Regions from separate parts of the Homo sapiens genome. Here region 2 is linked to region 1. The links are contacts of gene promoters, found by promoter capture Hi-C in blood cells and fetal thymus (Javierre and others, 2016). All regions are on one chromosome and are shown on one strand. The core of a region is centred on a gene start or on the middle of the fragment in contact, and the rest is flanking DNA. Distances in the headings are between cores, read along the strand shown.

The links. The method cuts DNA at HindIII sites, captures the fragments that hold promoters and counts their contacts. A CHiCAGO score of 5 or more calls a contact.
Region 2: a contact is called between a fragment that was not itself captured here and the fragment with the promoter of PHOSPHO2 in region 1, in 1 of 17 cell types (total B cells). The highest score is 6.2, in total B cells.

The regions. Positions count from the first base shown.
Region 1 is chr2:169,692,288-169,697,995 of GRCh38, reverse strand. It overlaps PHOSPHO2 (phosphatase, orphan 2), which reads right to left and starts at 3,527. Exons shown (of 4, transcript NM_001008489.4): 1 at 3,374-3,527; 2 at 2,749-2,781; 3 at 465-635. CFAP210 (cilia and flagella associated protein 210) reads left to right here and starts at 3,591. Exons shown (of 9, transcript NM_001085447.2): 1 at 3,591-3,735. The coding sequence starts at 3,669. It overlaps PHOSPHO2-KLHL23 (PHOSPHO2-KLHL23 readthrough), which reads right to left and starts at 3,527. Exons shown (of 5, transcript NR_144936.2): 1 at 3,374-3,527; 2 at 2,749-2,781; 3 at 465-635. RefSeq lists a silencer at 3,219-3,498 and an enhancer at 3,629-3,808. The HindIII fragment of the contact is 4,078 bases long and covers 665-4,742 here.
Region 2 is chr2:169,654,795-169,660,502 of GRCh38, reverse strand. All of the region lies in intron 5 of CFAP210 (cilia and flagella associated protein 210), which reads left to right. It also overlaps the pseudogene LOC100421474. Among named protein-coding and RNA genes, the nearest start is that of CFAP210, 37 kb to the left of the region's middle. The HindIII fragment of the contact is 1,996 bases long and covers 2,582-4,577 here.

The DNA of each region.
Region 1 (5,708 bases), core at 2,278-4,777:
ATAGGGGTATCACCTGTTGTGTGAATGTGGCTGGTACATAGTTTTTGTTATTCTGGATCCTTGTATCACTAAATGCCTAATCCAGATGCTTCTGACTGGTTCCCTGAAATTTAAATGCAGAATTCACTTTCCTACAGAAACAATGTAATAAATAATAAGGCATAATTGACAATCACAGTAGTACTGTAACTAGGCACATTTTAAATTAAATATGCTTTTTGAGAATTCTGAATTTATAATTAAAACAAATTTCAAATGTAACTCACTGTTGTTTGAAAACTGCCTCAAACCTAAACTTAATTAGCCACAAATTACTGAAATTCCTGAATTATTAGCCTCAAAATAGCATGAGACTGAGGTAACATAGTTCCCCTGCTGATCTGAAAGTGCACTTTTAAAATTTTCCCATCTTTTTCTGTTAGTATTTTCTCACCACTCAACATAAACCTTTAAAAAATACTTACCCAACTTAGTATTTCCAAGACAATCTTACTTCAGCATTGGGATTAGGATAAACAATCATGACAATCTTCAGTTTTAAACATCAGCCAGTTGTTTTCAAATATTACTCCTATTCTATATACAGGGAACAGAGTCTTCTGGTTTGGAGCAAAATAATGGAAACTTCTTAACTCCTAAAATTAATAAAAGTATTTTAAAAGCTTTAACATTTGTATTTTCAGGCCGGGCGCAGTGGCTCACGCCTGTAATCCCAGCACTTTGGAAGGCCGAGGCGGGGGATCACGAGGTCAGGAAATGGAGACCATCCTGGCTAACACAGTGAAACCCCATCTCTACTAAAAATACAAAAAATTAGCTGGGCGTGGTGGCGGGCACCTGTAGTCCTAGCTACTTGGGAGACTGAGGCAGGAGAATGGTATGAACCTGGGAGGCGGAGCTTGCAGTGAGCCGAGATCGCGCCACTGCACTCTAGCCTGGGCAACAGAGCGAGACTCCGTGTCAAAAAAAAAAAAATTTTTTTTTTTGTATTTTCTAATTATGTTGTTTTTCTAATGTCAGAAAAGCATCTTTTGGCAATAGGAGAACAAAGTTTTGCTTTCCACTTGGTATCGACTTGGTGTCGAAAATAAGAAATGTTATGTGAAAATAAGTTTTTGTCCAGTGGATAAAATCAGTGTTAAGCTGATTGAGATTTTCAGAGTCCATTTTTTCTTTGTACTTGTTTAATAATAGAGGAGTTCCACATTCTGTTGTCAATAGACATTTAGTGCTGTACTAGAAATTAAAATGTCTCCAAAAATTAAGAATATGAACAAAGATTTAGTTTTAAGAATGTGAATCTGTTTTGAAACCAATTTGTTAAAATTCCAAAAAGTTAACTGTTCTCTTCAAAAGCACAATCTATGTCTATTTGGTATGTCTGCAATGTTTCCATAGTGTAACAATATCCTGCATACTTTACACAATAATGAAAATTAAAAACTACACAGACATCCAAGAATTGGGAAATAATTAAGTAAGATATGCATGTGATAGCAAATAACAGAATATCCAGCCAGTAAAAGCCAAGATATTCAGTTCAAATTAAATAAGCAAGTCACAAAATAGTGTGTACAGTATAATCCTGTTTTTGTTTTAGAAAATGTTTACATGTGCAGTGGGATGGTTATGGTTGGTTCAACCGTAGTTCACACTTTTTCTACATCAATTTTGTAATAAAATTTTTTTCTTCTCAGAATAATTTAAACTCTGTTTCAGATCAGAGTGCATATGCTACCTTATTAAATTCACAACAAAGAAATAAAAGAGTGGTGGGTATAGGACAAATAACTCTAGATTGACTTGGTTGTGACAATCCACAGGTTGGAGCTGGAATCTCGAGTCTGAAGTCAAATTATATCTGACCACCATGTCAAATTGGCAAGTAACTGACATCAAATCATGAGATTCAATACTTTTGTAACCAATTTTGTTAAAATTCCAGAAAATTGTTGTTGGGAGACAATTTTCCCTGCGTCTCTGGTGGTTCTGCATGTCTTACTGACTGCCCTTTCCTCTAGACTATTGTCTCAAGGATGTTTGTACACTGGACAGCCTTGAGAAACATGCTTATTTGTCCAAATGATAAAGATCTGGGTTCCCTAAGCTCAGGGCTCCTTTCCTGTAATTCGACACACACTACATCTAGGTGACTTCTTGCCCACTTTGCATTATCCTGTGGGAACTGGGGCTTTAGGGAACTCAGGCGAAATTGCTGATTTACTGGCTACTGCTGGGAGTAATTCATTCCTGAAATGAATAGTCTTGTGTCTTCCATGAAACTGCCAGGCTAAGTTAGCCTGCAAACAGGGTAAAAATCTCTGTTCCTTCCCAGTTCTTGAAACTTTTTTTTTTTTTGAGACGGAGTCTCGCTCTGTCGCCCAGGCTGGAGTGCAGTGGCACGATGGTCGGCTCACTGCAAGCTCCGCCTCCCAGGTTCACGCCATTCTCCTGCCTCAGCCTCCAGAGTACCTGGAACTACAGGCGCCCGCCACCACGCCTGGCTAATTTTTTTGTATTTTTGCTAGAGACAGGGTTTCACCGTGTTAGCCAGGATGGTCTCGATCTCCTGACCTCGTGATCCGCCCGCCTCGGCCTCCCAAAGTGCTGGGATTACAGGCGTGAGCCACCGCGCCTGGCCCCCAGTTCTTGACACTTTTTAAGGTATAGTTCCAAAAACCTACCAGCGCTGTATGTGCACAAACTAATTTCTGTCTTCAAATATTTTCTTAATTATTCCATACTTACCAGCATTATTACGTGGAACATCTGATAGAAAACCTAAAGAAAAATAGCACGACTATGTGTTAGAACATTCGTTATTAAAAATCTTTTTGTTCTTTCATTTTGAGAGACTCCAATTTGGTGCATTATGTGTACACGTCAGAGCCAACTTGTTAGTAATGAAGTTATCTGTACATCAATGTGTTAGAAAAGCATCTTTTGAAACCAAACGCGCAGCTACTCCTAACAGATTTCTGTGGTCATGTATTTACCAAGAAATTTAAAATATCTCAAAGGTCCTAACGTAAATATTCTAAGCATATCATTACGTTTTAACATTCCTATTTTTAAAAAACTTGGCCCCATCTAGTCCTGACCATGCCTCAGAAACCAAAGGATTAAAAAAACAGCGTTTATGTCAGCGAATCCGCGGGTTTTTATAGTTAAGGGAGGGCTTTGCTCCTCACACTCCACCCGCGAGGAGATCTGCGGACGCACACACCACGCCTAGGCCTCGCGCGCTCACACACCTGCCGGCTCCACCCCGAGGGTAGGCATCGGACCCAATCGGGGGTCGTCCCCCATGGGGAGCGCGCAGGTGGGGATGGGAGTAGCAGGCAGGGCGGGGGCCCACGGGCTTCTCACTGACCCAGTCCCGCCGTCGGCAGCCGCCCCGGCGCCCGTGACGCTCCTGCGGGTTCAGTCCTTTGGCCTCGCCCCACGCCTGCCCTCTCGGCAGCCCCACTCACAAGCCCAGCTCGCAAGCGCAGGCGCCTCTCTTCTCTAGCCCGACCGCCAACTGCAGCACCTCCCTTGTTCCTCGGCTACGGCTGGCGTCACTTCCGGCGGCGTTGCCAAGCAACCGCGTGGTACGAGTAACAACTCCACCGGCTGGCGTCCGCGGCGCTTGGCGCCACAGTCACTTTTCCAGATCTAGGAGCATCATGGACACCTCGTCAGAGATGCTGGTACGGTTTGGACGGCGCTGTGGACGGGCGAAGGAAAGTACAGGTGAGCTAAACTGACCTATCCAGGGACAGGGATTGTTTCTGGACCCCCGGCATGGAGTGAGAGGCGAGGATGCCGAATGAGGGCTTCAGTTGCCTTTTGAAATGGACTCCACCAGGTCGAAAGCATCCTCAATAAGCATCTTTGGGCTCTGTGTGAAGTTAGGCCGTCTTGCCCTCAGGTGAATGGGTGAAGGAGGGAAACGGGGAGTGGAAGTGGGTGGGAGAATGTTTACAGAAATAGGGGTGGAGAAAAGATAGGAAATCAGAGACCCCCACCCCCAGCCCCAGCTGACCTAAAACTGCGCAGTTGCAGCTCTGAGAGTCTGGGTTTTGTTAAATTTCCCGCACGCTTAAAGTTTGTTATTCACTGATTGAATTGGAATATCTCTTGGAAATATAAGTCACCTCTTTAGAGGCTTGGCTCTTCTGCAAACCTGCTGATTGGTCTTTACTAAAAGTCTCTGAAGGAAATATCTCCATTTCCTCCTCTCTAAAGTAAATATAAGGTCTCTCTCTAAGTCAAATGCTTTTAGAGAGTTAAAAAAAAATCGTGTGACATAAAGTACTGTAATTCAGGTGACCTGTTATAACAATTTGATTTTGGAATAGAAATAGACTTCTAAAGAACTCTATCAATTCTAGCTACAACAGTTTCTTACGTCTGTAAATTAGCAATTAATGTTGTCATGGTGACAACTAGAACTTTGGCAATTTGAAGTATCTTCATGTCATTGCCCGAGCTTCTGTAGCAATAGTGCCCCCTGCACCAGATGCAGAGTGACAGCCAGTCATTCTTCACTAGTGGATATTTATGCAGTGGAGGTTTTATGAGGTTAGCAGCGGACTTTTGCCATGTAAAAGGAAAGAAACAGTACCAACATGGCCAGTTTTGGAAAAGCACAATTAGTCCCACACATTCACTTTCCTGCATATGCATTTCTGCACTACCTGGTTTAGATTTACCTAATAGTTGTTAAATAATGTTTTGTGGCAACTAGCTCAAAAGCTTCCACCTGAGCCTCACTGCTAAATTTTAATCTCCATTTTTAGGGGAAGGCTAAGTTGGAGAGAGGTTCAGAGATGTGTGCAGCTATTAGTAAAATAAATAATTTATAAAGATTTAGTGGGATGACATCAGCCAGAATGGTGAAATAGGATCTATGCCTGAAATCCTCTCCTCCATAAAATCAACAAGAACAGTGGCAAAAATCATCAATATCGACTTTTTCAGAACTCTGGAAATTAACCAAAGGCTTGCAACAATTTGTAGAGTGTTTACTAAAGAAAAACAGCTGGATTTTTGTAACAACAGCAAGGTTTTTGGCATTTTAACTTGCCATAGTCCTATACTTTTCTCCCAGCCCCGTGTCAGCCTAGATAACCACAGTAATCACAGTGAAAAATAGTGACTTAGCAACTGGTAGAGGGGACAAAACAGAATTTGACCCACTCCAAAGCCAGACAACTGTTATTATTCGACATGTTTGATAGTTCCTTGGAAAATCTCACTCATGAGGCTTATTGTTATTTAGTCTGACTTCAAACTCACCAAGTATGTTTGTCAAATGTTCAGTGGCAATTTTAAATATCACAGCTATCAGAGGCATGTGTGGGAACTTAATCCCCAATGTAAAAATGTTGGAAGGTAGGGACTAATGAGAGGTGATAGGCCATGAGGGCAGAGTAAAGGGATTAATGCCATTATCTGGGGAATGGGTTCATTATAAAAGTGGGAAAGTTGGCCCTCTTCTTTCTCTCTCTCTCTCTCTGTCTCTGTGTGGTGTGTGTGTGTGTGTGTGTGTGTGTGTGTGTGTGTGCGTGCGCCTGTTGCCCTCTCTTTGCCCTTTTGCCATGTAATGCCTTCCATCATGTTATGATGCGGCAAGAAGGCCCCTGCCAGATGCTGGCACCTCGATACTAGCTTTCTCAGCCTCCAGAACCATAAGCCAATAAATTTCTATTCCTTATGAATTA
Region 2 (5,708 bases), core at 2,330-4,829, 38 kb after region 1:
AAATTAGTAGAAGAAAATAAATAATAAAGATCAGAGCAGAAATAAATGAAATGGAAAGAAACAAAACAAAACAAAAAAAAACAGTGAAATGAAAAGTTGATTTTTTTTTTTTTGAGACAGAGTCTTGCTCTGTCAACCAGGTTGGAGTGCAATGGTGTGATCTCAGCTCACTGCAACCTCTGCCTCCTGGGTTCAAGCAATTCTTCTGTCTCAGCCTCCTGAGTAGCTAGGATTACAGGCACGCACCACCACGCTCAGCTAATTTTTGTATTTTTTTTAGTAGAGACAAGATTTCACCATGTTGGCCAGGCTGGTCTTGAACTCCTGACCTTGTGATCTGCTCGCCTTGGACTCCCAAAGTGCTAGGATTGCAGGCATGAGCCACCGTGCCCAGCCAGAAAAGTTGTCTTTTTTTTTTTAAAGATAAACAAAATTTACAAACCTCTAGCCAGATTAAGAAAAAAAGAGAAGACCTGAATAAAAAAACTCAGAGATGAAAAATGAGACATTACAACTGATGCTGCAGAAATTCAAAAGATCATTAGAGGCTAGTATGAGCAACTATATGTCAATAAATTGGACAATCAAGAATACATGGATAAGTTCCTAGACACATACAACCTATCAAGATTGAACCATGAAGAAATCCAAAACCTGAACAGACCAATAACAAGGGATGAGATTGAAGCCATAATAAAAAGTCTTCCAGTAAAGAAACTTTTGAGTTAATGCTGGAATGAGTTAAGACTTTGGGGACTGTTGGGAAGGCATAATTGGTTTTGAAATATGAGAAGGACATGAGATTTGGGAGGGGTTAAGAGCAGAATGATATGGTTTGGCTCTGTATTGCCACCCAAATCCCTTGTTGAATTGTGATCCCAAGTGTTGGAGGTGGGTCCTGATGGGAAGTGATTAGATCATCGGGGGTGGTTTCTAATGGTTTAACACCATCCTCCTAGTGCTGTCTTGTGAGTGAATTCTCATGAGATTTTGTTGTTTAAAAGTGTGTAGCACTTCCCCCTTCACACTCTCTCTGTCTTACCATCATTTGAAGACATGCTTACTTCCTCTTTGCCTTATGCCATGATTGTTAAGTTTCCTGAGGCCTCCCAGCCATGCTTCCTGTACAACCTGTGGAACTTTGAGCCTATTTAAACCTCTTTTCTTCATAAATTACCCAGTTTCAGGTAGTTCTTTATAGTAATTTGAGAATGGACTAATACAGTAGGTATCATAAGACTCTATGATTAAGTATATTCAGTGGGAGCATTTGCCAAAACTTCCAAACTTGGTATGAAAGGTTGTACCAAGTTCTTTTTTTTAAAGCCCAATCTGGTGGACAAAGGTAACATATCTTCCTGATTTTTTATTTATTTTATTTTTTGAGATAGGGTCTTGCTCTGTTGCCCAGGCTGGAGTGCAGTGGCATGATCACGGCTCACTGAAGCCTTGACTTCCCAGGCTTAAGTGATTCTCCCACCTTAGCATTCTGAGTAGATGGGACTAGGCATACACCACTATGCCTGGCTACTTTAAAAAATTTTTTATAGAGATGGGCTATGTTTCCTAGGCTGGTCTCCAACTCCTGAGGTCAAGCAGTCCTCCTGCCTTGGCCTCCCATGGTTCTGGGATTATAGACATGAGCTACCACAACTGGCCTGTATCAGAGTTCTTAAGGACCAACCTCCTAATAGTGTAAAATATCTTCTAAATGCTCTCCGGTACACAATAAAACATTTGAATGATCAGACTAACTCCAAGCAAATTAAATCCATGATGCAATAACAGTTCGGGAATAAGCACCTGTTGTAGACAGAAGACAGTATTCTGCACTGACTGAGAATACAGTTTTTTAGTGATTGCAATTACCATGACATTTTTCTTGCTTTTATGTCTTCCTCTGTTCCTCTTCTCTCCTTTAAGATCATGTTCTTATTCCTAAGACTTCTTCTCTATACCCAAATTAGTAAAGTTATACTCTAAAGAGATATTGTCCTTTCAAACAGGTAACCTACAGCAGCTAATTATTGGGGTCTCTACTGAGAAAAATTCTGTGACTTTTATCTAAATATTTTCAAATGTGAATTTTGGGGAAACTAATATTTATTTGCTTCTCCTACATGGCAAAACTGCCAATTCTGCTATTTGAAAACCCCCAATGACTTTATTTTCTACTATCACTTTTTTCATGTGCTGCCACAAAATGAAAATGTTTAAATATGTTGTACAAATGGTAGCCAACACAAACTTTTTTGTAGTTTTTAAGAGTTTAAAGTTTTAATTTTACATTTTGACCTTTTTTGTAAGGGTGTATGTTATGTGTTTCACCTTTGTTAACATTAAAAACTGTGATGTGTGCATAGAATATTACTTTCTAGGGCTAAATCTCTGATTTCCTGAAGCTTATGTCTTTTTCTTTCTTGATTTACTCCCTCGTCTTGCTATAATACACCTTTGAATAGCTTCCTTAAGAATGGGTGTATGAGAGGTAAAATTTTTTAATTATCTGAAAAGTTTATTTTTTACTCATTTTTATTTATTTTATTATTTTTTAAGGACAAGTATGATAGTATGAAAAGCTTATCTTTTAAAGTCATGCATGATTTACAGTTTGATTGGTTATAGAATTCTGGGTTCAGAATTCAGAATTTTGTATTAATTGTTTCATATTCCTCTGGCATCCAGTATTGCTACTGAAAAGTATGATGCCATTGATGATCTTCATCTGACATATGTAATCATTTTTACTTTTCTTTCTTATTTTTTTTTTGTTTCATTTTGTTTTGAGACAGTTTCACCCTGCCTCCCTGGCTGGAGTGCAGTGGCATGATCTTGGCTCACTGCTGCAACCTCTGCCTCCTGGGCTTAAGCACTTCCTGTGCCTCAGCCTCCCGAGTAGCTGGGATTACAGGCATGTGCCACATACCCGGCTAATTTTTGTACTTTTAATAGAGACAGGGTTTCGCCATGTTGACTAGGCTGGTCTCGAACTCTTGGCCTCAAGTGATCTGTCCGCCTTGGCCTCCTGAAGTGCTGTGATTACAAGCATGAGCCACTGTGCCCAGCCATTTTTCTTTTTTTCTTTTTCTTCTTTCTGTCCGAATGGTTTTAGGGTCCTGTCTTTATCTCTGGTGCTCCAAAATTTTACAGATGTGCCTTGAATTATGTGCCTTCATTCATTTTTCTGGGCATTCAGTTGATGCTTTTATTCTGTAAACATATTTCTTTCATCCTGAGAACTTTTATTGTTTTATTTCTTAGATAATTTTGTCCCCTCCCATTTTATCTTTCTATTGTTCTAGAATCCCTCTGATAGACATTGGATTTTTTGAAATAATGCTCTAATGTCTAAGAATCTTTTCTCATTAGTTAAGAGAAGGCTTAAATGCATGTGATAGAAAACCCAAAATAATATACAGGTTTAAAGTGCAGGGGTGTCTGGTAATGGCAGCTATAGAATTAACAGGGACTAAGACACCTTCGACACCTTCTTCTCTTTTTTTTTTACTCTGTTCTTTTTTTTTTTTTTTTTTTTTTTGAGATGGAGTCTTATTCTGTCACCCAGGCTGGAGTGCAGTGGCATGATCTCAGCTCACTGCAACCTCTGCCTCCCAGGTTCAAGCAATTCTCCCTGCCTCAGCCTCCCAAGTAGCTGGGATTACAGGCACCCACCGCCATACCCCACTAATTTTTGTGTTTTTAGTAGAGATGGGTTTTCACCATGTTGGCCAGGCTGGTCTTGAACTCCTGACCTCAGGTGATCTGCCTGCCTCAGCCTCCCAAAGTGCTGGGATTACAGGTGTGAGTCACCACGCCCGGTCTACTCTGTTATTCTTTGTACATAGATGGCATCTGTTCTCAAGTTTGCCTCATGGCCCTGAATAGCTGCTGGAGTTTTAGCCCTCATCTCCACATTCTGGATAGCAAGAAAGAAGAAAGGATGAAGGTCAAAAGGGAGTACTCTATTTCCTGTCTCCTTCTCCTCCTCCTCCTCCTCCTCCTCCCGCACCTCCTTCTCCACCACCTTCTCCTCCTCCTCCTTCTCTACTTCATCTTCCTCCTCTTCCTTCTCTTCCTCGTCCTCCTCCTTCTCTACTTCATCCTCCTCCTCCTCTTCCTCCTCTTTCCTCTTTCTTCTTCCTTTTTCCTCCTCTTCCTCTCTTCTCCTTCTCCTCCTTCTTCTTCTTCCTCTTCTTCCTCTTCCTCTTTTTTTGAGACAGGGTCTCACTCTGTTTCCCAGGCTGGAGTGCAGTGGCACGATGTTGGCTCACTGCAGCCTTGACTTCCTGGGCTTAAGTGATCCTCCCACCTCAGCCTGCCTGGTAGCTGGGACTACAGGCATGTGCTGCCATACCTGTCTAATTTTTGTGGTCTTTTTTGTAGAGATGGTTCTGGTATGTTGCCCAGGCTGTTCTCCTTTTAAGGAATTTTCCAAGAAGTCCCACTTAACAGTTTTCCCTGAATCTCATTGGTCATAATTTTGTTACACCTGGCTGAAAAGAAAGCTGCACATGTAGTCTTTCAGCTGAGCATATTTCTACCCTGAATAAAATCTGGGTCCTGCTGCTAACGAAGCTTAGGCAACTAATTGTTTCTGCCGTTTTCTTTTTGTTCTACTGAGTTTCAACTTTGTATTCTAAGTCTTCTATTAATTTTTTTATTTTAGCTATGAAAATTTTAATTCCTAAGACTTTTACTTGAAATGTTGTTATTGTTTTCATTAAAATCTGATTATTGGTTAAGGGGTGGAATAATTTTTATGTCTCCAAGTAGGCTTGGAGTAGGACAGACCTAGTTTTTAATGCTAACTCTGCCATTTACTGGCTATATGACCTTGAGCTTAAGCTTTCAATATTGAAAAATGAGAATTAACTCTGTGTTAATCAAATCTGTATTTTTTGTATTATAAAAAGTCTTTGTGAATATTAGAATAAACTTGGAGAAAACAGCAAAATAAAACATGTAAGGAATTATCCAAAACACTTTTAACAGTTTGCTGTTTGCTTTAGTTTTTCATATTGATCATATTGACCAATATATTTCCTATCCAGATTACAGGCTTTTAAAATTAACCCATAAAATAGGAGATTAGTTAAGAGTGCTGGGCACATAGTAGACCCTGAGTTATAAATATATTGGAAGATTAAGTGATGCCCCTAACAACTTTTACCTTGAATTGGTTTCTACTTACATAATAACAGAATATGCCAGGCACGGTGGCTCGTGCCTGTAGCCCCAGCTACTCTGGTGGCTGAGGTGGGAGTTTCCCTTGAGCCCCAGAGTTCAAGGCTTTCATGAGCTGTGATCATGCCACTGCACCCTGGGCAACAGACACCCTGTCTAAATAACAGAATATACTAATATATCTATATATTCAGGCTATTGTGCTCAATGGCATCTGTTTTTATGATGGCTAACTCAGGCTGAGATCATAGAACATATGCTAATATGAACAGATTTTACTTTTTGTTTTAAATACTAGTGACCTACTTTTACAATTTTTGTTAGAATACATATCTGTTTTTTCTTATATGTATGCAAAAGCAAAGTTTGGACAAGAAACTAGCAATAGTGATTTGAGTCTGGAGGGAGGATTAGGAAGAGACATAGTGGATGGAGTGGAAGGACGCTCGCTACACTGTGTATGTAAAAAAACATTTTTGGTTTTTGAACCATATGACTATTCAAACATTAAATGAACTTTATAT